Regions from separate parts of the Homo sapiens genome. Here region 1 is linked to region 2. The links are contacts of gene promoters, found by promoter capture Hi-C in blood cells and fetal thymus (Javierre and others, 2016). All regions are on one chromosome and are shown on one strand. The core of a region is centred on a gene start or on the middle of the fragment in contact, and the rest is flanking DNA. Distances in the headings are between cores, read along the strand shown.

Region 1 (6,782 bases), core at 4,281-6,780, 890 kb after region 2:
AAATGCTTCTTGAGTAAGGCACACTGCATAGATGCATGGTTCAGGCAAAAAATGAGAAAGCTGGAAATAAAGATGGATGTAAAATTAAATAGGGAAACTTTTCCCCAACCAATTGGACAGCAGAAGGACCATTTGCCAAGTGGTTATGAGTGATAAGAAACACTTCTGGGATTCATTGCCCAAGATATACCTGTTATTTATTTAAGGTTGCTAGTCAATAAAGCTTATATCACCATCTTTATTCATCTCACCAGTAACTTATTAAATTATATTACCTTAATTTTTTGCTGTTGTGCATTTTATGAGATGTACAAGATACATATAGTACCATGGTGAAATCCTGCCTCTGTAAACTGCCCTAAGCCCACTGATGTATATCTCCATTAAAGTTCCCTGGAATGGCCAAACTAGGTTTTTTAATCTGAATAATGGAGGTTATATTCATTGTCTTCATTTCCCTCTTTCTCAGTTTCTTTGCTTCCTTGTGTTTTAGTACAGTTTCATCCTTCTTTTGTCAAGGAAAAGATATGAAACAAATCTTCAGGCTCACACTTACCAGCTGCATTTGAGTGTTTATTCTCAGATTCATTAATGGCCAGACAGAGAGGCTGGCTAGGAAAGAAAGTAAAGTATGAGAAACTTCAGCCACTTGAAGTCCAAAATGAATGTGAAGCATCTCTGAAACTATAATCTGTGTCAAAGGAAAATCAGACTATAATTAAAAGGAAGAAAGAAATAGGCCATTATCCACAACATTTTGTTTACCATGTAAAAGAGGAACACAGGCTTTCCAGGAAATAAGTAAATTGTGGGTAATTTAAGAACAGACATCATATCTTATATACCTCCAGGTGAGGGACTTCTGTTTGTCTCTTTAGATCTGTTCTTTACTTAACTCCTCTTATTTTTAGCTGGAAAACAATTACATAGAATAAAGACTGAATTTCCCATACTTTCTTGCAGCTGAACTTACCTATATACTTGGGGTTATGCATACAGCTTCTAGAAAATGTCTTTTGAAGGAAGAAACCCATCTTTTTCTTCCCTTTTCTTCTTCTTGCTGGATGGAAAGTGGATGCAAATTTGAGAATTAAAAATGAAAAGAACCTGGGTTCCAGGGATCTCATACCAGCCTTGGCCTTGTTAACTACTGATTTTGTCCCTAGAGGACAGAGAAAAAAAAAACCTATCTAGTTTAAGCCACTCTTATTTTGGCTTTTTGGTCACTTGCAGTTAAACCTACTCCTTAGCAATACACCCCTTCAACCTCTGGAAGAATACCTTTCAATCAATCAACAGCTGCAATGATCACAGTTACAATGGACTAAACAGATATGTTGGGGCTGTTGCCGTCCTCACATTTTTGGAAGGCTCAGTGCTTTGGGTCTCAAGAATATAGCAGAGAGAATTTGGGCATGATTTATTTTAATATGGTGAGCAGAACATCCTGAGGGAAACACACACCCTTATATACATATACATGCACACACATATAAATATATATATGCATGCACATACACATAAATATAATGTCTCCATAGATTGATAAAATACCATTCAGTGGAGAGTGCAGTGACCAGGGTACAAATACAGGCACTGTCACTGGATGGTGGAAGCATAAATTGGTGTGATCTTTCGGGAAGAAATTTGCCAATATGTATCACAGCCTTCTCTAAGGAGAGAATGTGAACAAAGAGTGATGGCCAAAATTTTCATTGTAGCAGTAGATTATACAGAAAGTTTCTCAACCTAAGGGTTCAAACAATAAATGCATGTGTTGTGAAGTGTCAGAGCTGGCAGTTAACTGGAGTTTCTTTCCCATGAGTTGATTTTCATCAAGGAAAGAATTTCTCAGAGGTTGGGCATCAAGCGATAGAGAGGAGTAGATGGCAGACAATGAGACATCTGCCTCCGACCAGGCCCATAGGTCAGTCTAGCCACAAGGGACAGAGAATCACCCTCAGACACTAAAGAAGCTGTTTCCATAAATGAGACACAGAGGCCTGAAAACTCTGTTTAGTACTCAGGGGAGAAGTTAGAAGACTTAGTGCAGAGCATTCTTCACTTGGTGAAGAATCTTGGTTGGGTTCAGCACAGACGGATGATGTGCCTTGGCAACCTGAGGGTCTGCAGCTTTGGGAAGATAAGGAGACCTAGCCTAGGGAGGCAAGCCAGCATCACCATGCCAGGTGCCAGCATCTGTAGTAGTGGGGAGGTGCTGCCCTCAAGCGGCTGTTTGGACAGTAAGCATCAGCAGGGGGCCAGGAGTGGAAGAGCAGAACATTTGTGAGCTCACCTGGGATATATCTTAACCACACACTCCAATTTCAGCTCTGCCTGGGTCATATGCCCACCTGCATATTCAGTTCTCCCTGGGAGAACTGAAATTGGGTGTGTGGCTAAAATATATATGCAGGTGGGCATATGAGCCAGTGAAGTGTGTAGCCACAAGCTAGGAAACAACCTAAATGCATAATGATAGAAAAAATCAGGTAAATTATGCTTTGTCTCATAACCTGTGAGCCTGATATTATCTGTGGATGTTCAGTATCCTTTCTGTCCTTCTAAGCTTTCCCCTTGTAAAACAGGGCCTGAAAGCATGGAAATCACGTTTCTCAAGTGCCTGTTTGAATATCATTGGGGTGGCACTTTGTGAAGTTTGCAAAGCAGAAGAAAAAGATGGGCCATTGCTTCCAGTAAAGATCTAGGCACGCGTCTGGGTATCAGCAAATGGCTGATGTGGGGCTTTGTCAGCAGCTCCCAGATGCTGCAAGCAGCTAAGCTCAGTAGTAGTGATATCACTGCAATATTTGTGTTTCTAGATCTAGAGCCATCCTGATCATTGTTTTCTTCCAATGGGAGGCATATATAAAGGTTGTATAAGCCTTATTCCCTACGTCAGCTTCCTTTATAGTGAAAAAAACTTAGAGTGGCTTCCATTTTCAGAACCAAAACTTAACTGATACAGCAGAGCCTGTTGGTTAAGGACCTGAACTCTGGTATGATTTAGACTTGGTTCAATCCCAAGATCTGTTTTAAGTGAGTGAAACCTTGAACAAATTCCCTCACCAAACTTCCCAGTTTCTTCATCTGCAAAATGGGTTCACGAACATGCCTACCTTGTAGGACTGTCACATGGTTTAAATTATATCATATATATTAGCATCCATAAATATTAGATATCATTATTGAATACTGCATAATAATTGCATTAAAATAGTATAATAGTAGATGGAAAGGGAAGAAAAAACTCTATGTACAGTATAAACTCAACTACATGAAATACACCAATGGAAAGATAGCAAAATGTTCTCTCTCTAGGGTTTACATATGATTCTATTTTCTTCTGTATTTTTTTGTATTTTTAAAATGATCTACAAGAAGTATTATATACTATTTTATAAAAGGAATAACATGTAATGCTATTAAAATAGCCTACAGTGAAGTTACATAAATATACATTCAAACCTCAGCATCACTCACAAATTCAATGCCTCATGCAAAGAAACACACTCAAATAATACTGTTTCGTTGGTATCTAATATTCATCATCTTTCTAAAGTTTTTTCCCTATCAGCCCAAGACCAAGTAAATATTGTGATAACTTCAGATCTGGGAACAGTAAACCCCCAGGTCAGGGAATTTGCAAACAGTGAATTCTGGAGGAAGCAAATATGTTTGTGGAATTATTCTGGGGAGACTGCTTCATTCTTACCACAAATGGGAAATGACTACTTCTACGGCAGCTGTGATATTCCATTCAGGAGAGGTTTGTTTCAGAGGTGTCATTGTTTGTTTTAGTTGGCCCTTATATTATTTTCATTAACTCTGACAGTCAGTTCTGCAAGACTTGGAAAGCCATACTTTCAGGTTTATGCCTTCTTTCGTCACAGCATAATTATTAATAGTGCCCCTTTTTGCTTTTGAAAATGTCTGGGTTTAGATAATTATACACATGTATGTGTACCCAATTCAAGACCTGCCCAAATAAGAGCAAAGCTTAGGATTTTTAATAAAGGTCTGTATACAGCATAAAATTGCTCCTTAGCATAAAACTGCACCTTAGCATAAAATTGCTCCTTAGTTAACTACCCCTAAACAGCATCTGTTTTGTTTTTGGATGAGCTTCCTGGCTTGAGAAGTTGCAGCCCACTTCCAGCCCACCTGAAAGCACCATACCTTATATATATATATATTTTTTTCTCCAACAAAAATACCTCTTGGGGCACTGTCCTCAAAAATGAATATTTTATTTAAGAAAATAATAGTTTCTTGAATACCTGTATTCATATTTATATCTATGTAGCATGCCCACCTGCTAAGAAATTCCAAGCACTGTAACCCCACAATCATGTCTATCTCTTCTCTGTATCACCAGAGACTCATACAGCAGCAATATGTAGAAAGTCAACAAACTTGGACTGAATTGAACCAAACTTGCTGTGAGTTACCAATAAAGTGATGATAGAGGAATCGTCTTTGGGCTTATCCATTAATCATATTCATAGATACCATTTCCTGATTTATCTTGAGAATAAATGTTCTGGTGGGAATTTTTATTTTTTAATTTCCTCCTTGTGATTTCATTGCACTTGTAATTGGGTCAGCATACAGCACAGCTATCATCCATCAAATGAGTCATTGGGCTGAAATAAACGAAAGATGGTTAAAACAGAGACGTTGCCTTTGAGCTTATTAACGTAGTGCAGAAGATAAAATATATGTGTGGCATGTTTTTTTACTTGTTGATGCATGATCTGTATAACCTATAACATGAACCTTCATTCTTCTCCCATTACCTGTGGTTCCTTTCTTTGCCTCTCTACATGAGCATGTGGACTTTTCAGCTTCAAGATGGAGTACTAATTTATAGGAGGAAGGCATATGGATACTCATTAGACTGTAAAGGTGATGAAGCCCATCCCTAAAATGCCCTGCAAGCATTCATGGAAAGCTCAACAACAAGACAGTTCCTTCATAACAAGTGCTAGATGAGTGCTACAGGATCTTTTTATTTTTATTTTTATTTATTTATTATTTATTTATTTATTATTTATTTATTTATTTATCGAGACAGAGTTTTGCTCTTTTGTCCAGGCTGGAGTGAAGTGGCACGATCTTGGCTCACTGCAACCTCTGCCTCCCGGGTTCAAGCAATTCTCTTGCCTCAGCCTCCCAAGTAGCTGGGATTACAGGCGCCCGCCACCAGGCCTGGCTAATTTTTGTATTTTTAGTAGAGAAGCATTTCACCATGTTGGCCAGGCTGGTCTTGAACTCCTGACCTCAGGCTATCCACCCACCTCGGCCTCCCAAAGTGCTAGGATTACAGGCATAAGCCCGGCCCAGTGCTACAGGATCTTAAAGGGAAAAGAGAAAAATGGGCTCCTGAGTTAAAAGGAGAGGACTCGTGGAGTATGTGAGGCATGAACTAGGTCTTGGATAATGAGATGAGCAAGAGGATTGCTCTTCTGGCCAGGACCACATACTATGCAGATGGATAGCAATTTCTGCTAGAGCTTTAAGCCCCTACCAGAAATTCTGGAACTCCTAATGGGGCACAAAAGCAGCAGGATAACTCCATAGCTTGGAAATAGAGGAAAGAGTCATGTGGACATGACTTAGGGATGTCCCAGTGATGACCCGTGTGGAACAGTGGGTACCTGTGTGCACCAAGGTCGGGATGAGCTCTTGTCAGGAAGTGTCAGCTTTACTCACATCTCCTGAGACTTAGACTCAAGTCTAGGGCTAGAATGGCAGGAGGAAGAGGAGACTCCAAATTGAGTGAGACTACATTGTTCAATCTTAGTGAAATGGGCTTGAAAATAACATTAAGTAGAGATTTGGAAAACAAAGAAACTTGTTTCTTTTTTTTTATGTTTATTTATTTATTTATTTATTTATTGCACACTTTTGCTTGTTGACTGAAATATATATTTGCTATATATGACTCTCTGACGATCTCAAAAATAGGCAAATTCACCAGCTGTGTGTGCTGACTTGTGAAAGGAATAAGAGAGGCCCTTAGCTCCATGGTCCATTATCAGTACTGCTATGCATGTGACTTAGCTGCATAGTTTACCTTGCAAGAGAGGGCAGGGCAGTAGGCTTCAAGTCACAGAGCAAGATCAGCCTGAATACTTTCCTTTTGTAAACGTGCACTGGATACAACTTTACCCAATCCAATTTGAGCTGCAAAATTGGACAGTAAATTTCAGAAGAGCAGCAGCTTCACCTGTCAGATTGTTAACTTACCATTTGCCTCAGCTCCTCCTGAACCAGATGAACAATTTTTCCTGTCATGCTTTTTACATTTCTGTTCCCAATCTAAGCATGAAAGAGGGGGTGTTAGAGCGGGTAAAATGAAAAACGATAGTGGGACAGCAGGCATTCTAGAAATCAGCATGTATGAGCCCTTTATTCATATAACCCATTGTCATTGGGTATATAATCATACATAGTCAAAAATAAGTGCGTATTTTTTGTTTTTGAAGAAAGTTTGCCTTAATGCATTCTTTATTACAACAAATTTATGTGCCTGTCTTTCTTGTCAATCTCAAGTTTGTTAGCTAATTTCCTACATGAAGGGACCCTGCCATGTGGAAGGTAAAGGCCTGCCAGGAGAATGAAATAGCAGCAGAACTGACCTGCTCTCAAAAACAAATTGCAAACATCAGCCTGGAAAACAGGCAGACTGTGTCATCATAAATCCCCTTTTCTCAATTCTCTTGAAATAAGGGTTGGCCAACCCTGTTCAAAGCACCAATGAATCATTTTGCAGGCAT
Region 2 (6,315 bases), core at 2,029-4,528:
ACACACTTGCATACAAATGTTCATAGCAGCACTATTCACAATAGACAAAAGTAAAAATAATCCAAATGTTATCAATTGATGGATAAACAAAATGTTGTATATACACATATTACTTAGCCATAAAAAGGAACGAAGTACTGATACATGCTACAATGTGGATGAATCTTTAAAACATTAAACTAAGTGAAAGAAGCTAGACACAAAAGGTCACAAATTGTATGTAACCTCCAGAATAGACAAATCCATAGGCAGAAAGCATATTAGTGTTTGCCAGGGACTAAGGGGAGGAGGGAACAGGGAGTGACTGCTTAATGGGTATCAGTTTCCTGTAGGGTGGTGAAAATGTCTTGGAATTAGACAGAAGTGATGGTTTCACAATATTATGAATGTAGTAATGCCACTGGGTTGTACACTTAATTAATGGTTAATTTTATGTTATGTGAATATTGCCTCGATTTAAAAAATATATTCTATTTACCTTTGTGTTAGATTCCTATTGCTGCACAACAAATGAACAAAAATTTAGCGGCTTTAAAATATTACCACATCAGCTTAGCTCACAGTTCTGTAGATCCAGGTGGGCTTGAGTGGATTCTCTGCTTACGGTTTCGCAGACCAAAATTAAGATGGTGACCCGGCTGGGCTCTTCTCGGAAGAATCCCACTTCCAAGCTCATTTAGGTTTTTAGCAGAATTCAGTTCCTTATGATTCTGGGACTGATATCCTGATTCTCTGCTGGCTGTCAGCCAGGAGCCAGTTTCAGTTGCTATAGGATGCCCACATTTCTTGGTATGTAGCCCCCTCCAACAGCAGCACGTCAAATTCTTCTCATCCTTCAAATCTCTCTGACTTCCTCTTCTGCTCTTAGCAGACGGAAAATCTCTGCTTTTAAAGGGCTGTTGTGATTAGATTGGGCCCACCTGGAAAATCTCACATCTGTCATAAAACGTAACATAATAACAGGAGTATTGCCTCATCAAATTCATAGGTTTCACCTCACACTCAAATGGGTGGGGGTTATACAAGGGCAAGCGTCACTGGGGATCATTCTTAGAATTCTGCCTATCGCAATGACCTCTTAGACAAAAATAATAAGAAAACATCTACCCAATTCAAGGACAATTACTGTTTATACCCAACCTCATTGCCTATGTGATTTATACCAAGGAAAAGTTACAGAAGCAGTGATTTACAGATTAACGTGGTTCAGGTACCCAAGCCTCAGGGAAGGGATGGAAAGCTGTTTTTGTTATTGTTGTTTTGTTTTTTGAGACGAGTACTCGCGAGTCTCGCTCTCCGCTCACTGCAACCTCCGCCTCCTGGGTTCAAGTGGCTCTCCTGCCTCTGCCTCCCAAGTAGCTGGGACTACAGGCGTGCATGCCACTATGCCCGGCTAATTTTTGCATTTTTAGTAGAGACGTGTTTTCGCCATGTTGGCCTGGCTGGTCTGAGACTCCTGACCTCAAGTGATCCGCCCGTCTCGGCCTCCCAAAGTGCTGGGATTACAGGAGTGAGCCACCGTGACCAGCCAGAAAGCTATTTTTAATAAGTAGGCTTCTCTTTCCGAGGCCTCTCTGGCTTGCTTTCTCTTTCTTTCTTCTCTTCTACTAAAGCACTGAATGTAAATACAAAGCGATTGTCAAGAAGACCACCTGTTTTCTCTCTGTAGTCCTGATAAGAAGGGTTGGAGTTTAGGGGACTAGACAATTGAATAATATCGATTAGCAGTCCTCAAACATTTTGGTCTTAGGACCCTTGTTAGAGGTGCCCCAAAAATCTGTTGGGTTTTGTGGGTTATACTTATTGAAAATTGCCATATGGTAATAAATTAAACCTGGAAAGTCTTACAAACACAAGAATATACAAGCACGTATTCTCTCATCCTATAAAGCGATGATGTCATCAGACATTATATAGCCTCTGGAGTGGAAAAGGAAATAAAGACTTAGCATGGTTATGAAAATAGATTTGAGCTCGTGGAACCTCTGAAAGGGTCCCAAGGACCCCCAGGGCTTCCTCGACCACACTTTGAGACTCATTGAGATATGTAAATACTGCCAGTTGTATTTCTTCACAGATTAATCAACTCACAGATTTGGGTGCATTCATTTGTGCAGTCTTAGAAACAAATCTTTCCCTTTACCAGTATCTTATTCCATCTGGTAGACTCATTTCTGCTGCTGATGCTTGAAAAAAGTGTCATTTGCTACCACAGGAGGAAAACGGTGCTAGATGGATCATAACATACAGAAAAGCAAGATAGTTCCAAAATGTTTCCAAGAGCTTCTGGCAGGATCTGTCATTCTACAAATACTGCACAGGAAAAATTGCTTTAAATGCTGCATCTTTGCAGTAGAAAGATTAGGATTGAGCCAGGCTGTGAGTCAGGCAGAAAAAGGCACACAGAGGGGGATGAAAGAAAGCACTGGAGAGTCTTGTCATGCTTTGCCCTTGAAAACTATGCCAAGACCTCTTTTGTGTTTTTAAATGAAGAAATCCATCATGTTTTGTGATTGCTGTAATGACTCAGGATCTTCCACCTTCCTTTTAACTATAAACCGTAGCGTAGTTAGGTGTTTGTTTTCTTTGTATCATGCTTGCAAAAAGTGACGAAATAAAGTTAAAACCCTTTAACTGGGACTCCATTACGGTTCTGCTGTTCAGTGACCAGCTTGTTCATTATTCTCACAATATTATCTACTTTCTTCATTTCAGTCTGTCTCTTAGATCCTGGGCTTCTGATGTCTTTCCATGGCGGATGAATACAATTTAAAACACGAAAGCTGCTGGAGGAAAGGTTTAACGTTCCCCCTCCCCAAGGTGAAATCTTTGCCTGGCCTCAGTCACTAAGTCTCTCAGGAGCGGAAACTGAATGGACATTCCGGAGACGGTGAATAAGAATGATAAACGGTGGTTGGGGAGAACAGCGCGTTTCTTCCAGCGGAGGACTAGGCCCACAGGACGCATTCCCAACAGATGAGCGGAGCCGACAGCAAGTGTGCCACGAACGCCAGCTGGCCGCCTCACTAGAGAGAGCTCCGCCGCAAGCCGCCGCTTTTGGAGTGGAGTTCCACATGTCCTCCGCGCTTGAGCCCTGGGACGTCAGAGGCCTGGCGTGCTGCCACCGCCCCAGTTCACGTCGTGTGACCCACGACCAATGGAAGAGCAGGCAAGTATTCCCGGCGTCCGCTGTGATTGGTTCCCGGAGTGGAGGCGGTGGCAGAGGGTGGGCCTTAGGACGGGTCTCCCTTAAACTGGGCGATCAGGCAGCGACCCTAGAGGCGTCTGTAGGGTAAAGCTGGGGGTTCTGTAGCCGGAGGCGGCGGCGAGTCCAGAACGTCCTGGCCTTACAGGGAGAAGGCGTCACTCGCGGTTACAAGTGCCTGACCCTCACTCCAGTTGGCGGAGGAGGAGAAGGAAGGGGCCGGGCCGGGTCCCCTCCCCTCGCGCCCCGGATGGATGTGCCCGGCCCGGTGTCTCGGCGGGCGGCGGCGGCGGCGGCCACTGTGCTCCTGCGGACCGCTCGGGTCCGTCGCGAATGCTGGTTCTTGCCGACCGCGCTGCTCTGCGCCTACGGCTTCTTCGCCAGCCTCAGGCCGTCCGAGCCCTTCCTGACCCCGTACCTGCTGGGGCCGGACAAGAACCTGACCGAGAGGGAGGTACGCGCGGCGGACGCGGGGCGCGGGAAGGGCGGGCGACCGGCCTGCGGGTGGGCAGCGGAGGAAGAGAGGACCGAGAAAAGCGCTCGAGCCATTCTCGGCAGAGATTTCTGATTTTGCCAGTTGGAGGTCGGCTTCGTGCTCTTCTTTGTGTTCATGATTTTCTGTTTTCTTCGGCTCTGTAGGACGAGTCTCCTGCGAAGGGCTCAGAACACGCGTCCAGAGGCCCCGTGCCTTGTGCGTCAGGCAGTATGCTGATCGTGTTGTAATGTGGCTTAGCGTGACTGCCCAGACTGGTCCAGCAGTTCCTGCTGGGGGCGAGGGGGCAATATTTTGACAAAGAAGTGAAAACAGCAAAGTGTACTTTGGACACGGCTTAGTAAATATTCATTGACTGAAAGTAGGCAACCACTGCTTTTCTGAAAGGATCTTCCCTCTACCTCCTTCACCTGCTTCCTGTCCATACCTTACTTTGTTTGCATTTGGCAGAATGGGTGGGCTTAATCAAGTAAGGACAGGACAGAAGTACAGAACATCTTAATTTGTCTTGATTTTTAATTGGGTGAGGTTGTGTCCAAGGATATCCTGCCCCTCTCTACCTTAAGACCAACCTCCAGGGATAAAGGCAGATGGTGAAACATAATTGACTTTTAATTATAGTGTTTCTTGTATTGCGAATTGTTGCTTCACAGATGTTAGTTTTGCTTCTCAGATACAAGGTGATGTCTTTGAAGGCCTTCTGTGATGTTCAGGGTAATTGAGAGCACGTAGTCCATCATCAAGAGTTTCTTGCTGATTGATTTTTTCCCTAGATGAGGGCTTACAAATAAAGTACTTCAGAAGCGCATAGTGTACTTTAGAAATGTGCTGACCTATTTAAGTGCATGGTCAAAACCAGCACTTGATTTTTGCAGAAGAAAGACAATATATAAACTGAGAAAGAAATTAAACCCAAAGTACTTCCACAAAACCGAAATAAAGCCGATTCAACACCCTCTTCCTTGAATACAACAAAGGGTGAAAGCTGAGGTCTCATGTTCTTTTTCCTACTATCAGTCAAGGGGCCACTTGAGAGCTTTTTCTTTTTTCCTACACCTGTTCCTTCCACCCTGCCTCCTTGCCCCAGGTGCTGTAAAATACTCCTCCCATTTAAACCTTACTCTTCTCTATGTGGGTAGTAGTCAGTCACTTCTTTTGAGTAGCCACTCAGTAACCCTGCATAACAGGTCAGAACAAGAGATGGCACTACCGGAATCATTTGCACACTGGCGAGATATAGTTACTCATAGTTTGTTGTTTGCAGTTTGTTTGTTGCAATGCTCCGTCATTTTCAAGGGCACTTGAGAGAGAATTAAGAATCAGTATTGACTTACGTATTGAGGGTTTCACTTGAGAGTCTGACATTTGTTCACTTCTAGCAAGTATCACTGACTTTTTGCCTGGCCTTAAATTACCCTATTGACCTGCCAGTTGTGGGATGGAGTGGCTGGGCCGTTTCTCAGTCTTGTGGATCATTACATAAGCGACCGTAACAGTTATTCATAACCTATTTGAGTTTTAATACTGATTTAAAGCAATAATGTCAAAACAGCCAAATTTCATGACAGAATGATTTTACAAGAAAATTACTGCACTGATATGAGAAAGTATGATTCTGGAGACCCAAAACAACCACTGAATCTGAGGTGTAGCCACTGAGGCAGAATTGATACTGCTGTGAACAGCTGACCATTAAAGTTTCATGTGAACTGCCATGTGATCTGCACAGTTTGTGCGCCTTTCCGGATAGTGAAACACAGGGAGAGAAACATGTTCCCAGTGTTGATATTTGAAAGCTGATCTGTTTTGTCATGTGCTCTGGGTAGAAGGTTGCTGTGTGACGTGCTACCAAGATCATGTGCTCTGTCCTATCAGAAAGCTTTTCAAGGTGAGTGAAGTGTGTTCAGGGGGCACAGAAATAAAGCAGAGTTGCCAGGCGTAGTAACTATTTGCTGATTGTGTAACAAAAAACATAAGTGTACTTCTCTTATTGCAAATTAGTTGAGGAAAAGCGTGGGATTTGAAGAGAAATCTAGTAGTCTGGGGAAGGGGTGTCTTCTCAGAGGACCACCAAATCATGGCTGATTCTCCTCTGCTTACCTTGTGGCAAACCCTACGTTTTTTTGTATAACTAATAATTGAAATAAATAGAACAACTTATTCATTACTTACTGAATGCTTGTTTTTTGCCATGGACAGTTAAATAAAAAAAATTACATGATTTTTAAGCAAAGCTAATGCTAAGTCATATTCAGCGACATTTGTATTAAAGTTTGTATTTGCTCTTAGAAGACTGCAGAAGGGCCAAGTTGGTTTGAATAGAGCTATTGTTAACTAAATCCTAAAACAAAAGGAGAGGAGAAAAAGATTTCTTCTGTCTACTCTCAAAAGTTTTTTTCTTAGATTTCAGGAAAAGCATTAATTTTAAAACAGATACCAGTGTGTAAGTTTTAAGCAGGCTAAAATTTGACTGTATGTTAATAGTTGAAGGCCAGACTTTCAGTAAAACAGATCTTTATCTCTAAAAACTTTTTTATCCTTTCATCATTGTAGCATGTGTTTTGACAGACATTTACTACCTTTCTTAGATTTTTTTAAACATTCCACCTATTTTGCC

The links. Contacts are between HindIII fragments. The CHiCAGO score rates a contact against its expected background, and 5 or more counts as called.
Region 1: a contact is called between a fragment that was not itself captured here and the fragment with the promoter of SLC19A2 in region 2, in 4 of 17 cell types (fetal thymus, megakaryocytes, M2 macrophages and 1 more). The highest score is 8.9, in fetal thymus.

What each region holds. Positions count from the first base shown.
Region 1 is chr1:168,599,121-168,605,902 of GRCh38, reverse strand. No RefSeq gene overlaps it. Among named protein-coding and RNA genes, the nearest start is that of XCL1, 26 kb to the right of the region's middle. The HindIII fragment of the contact is 3,058 bases long and covers 4,002-6,782 here.
Region 2 is chr1:169,482,907-169,489,221 of GRCh38, reverse strand. SLC19A2 (solute carrier family 19 member 2) reads left to right here and starts at 3,278. Exons shown (of 6, transcript NM_006996.3): 1 at 3,278-3,659. The coding sequence starts at 3,456. RefSeq lists enhancers at 2,844-2,913, 2,221-3,141, 2,924-3,173, 2,977-3,271, 3,814-3,873 and a silencer at 3,454-3,633. The HindIII fragment of the contact is 10,248 bases long and covers 1-5,579 here.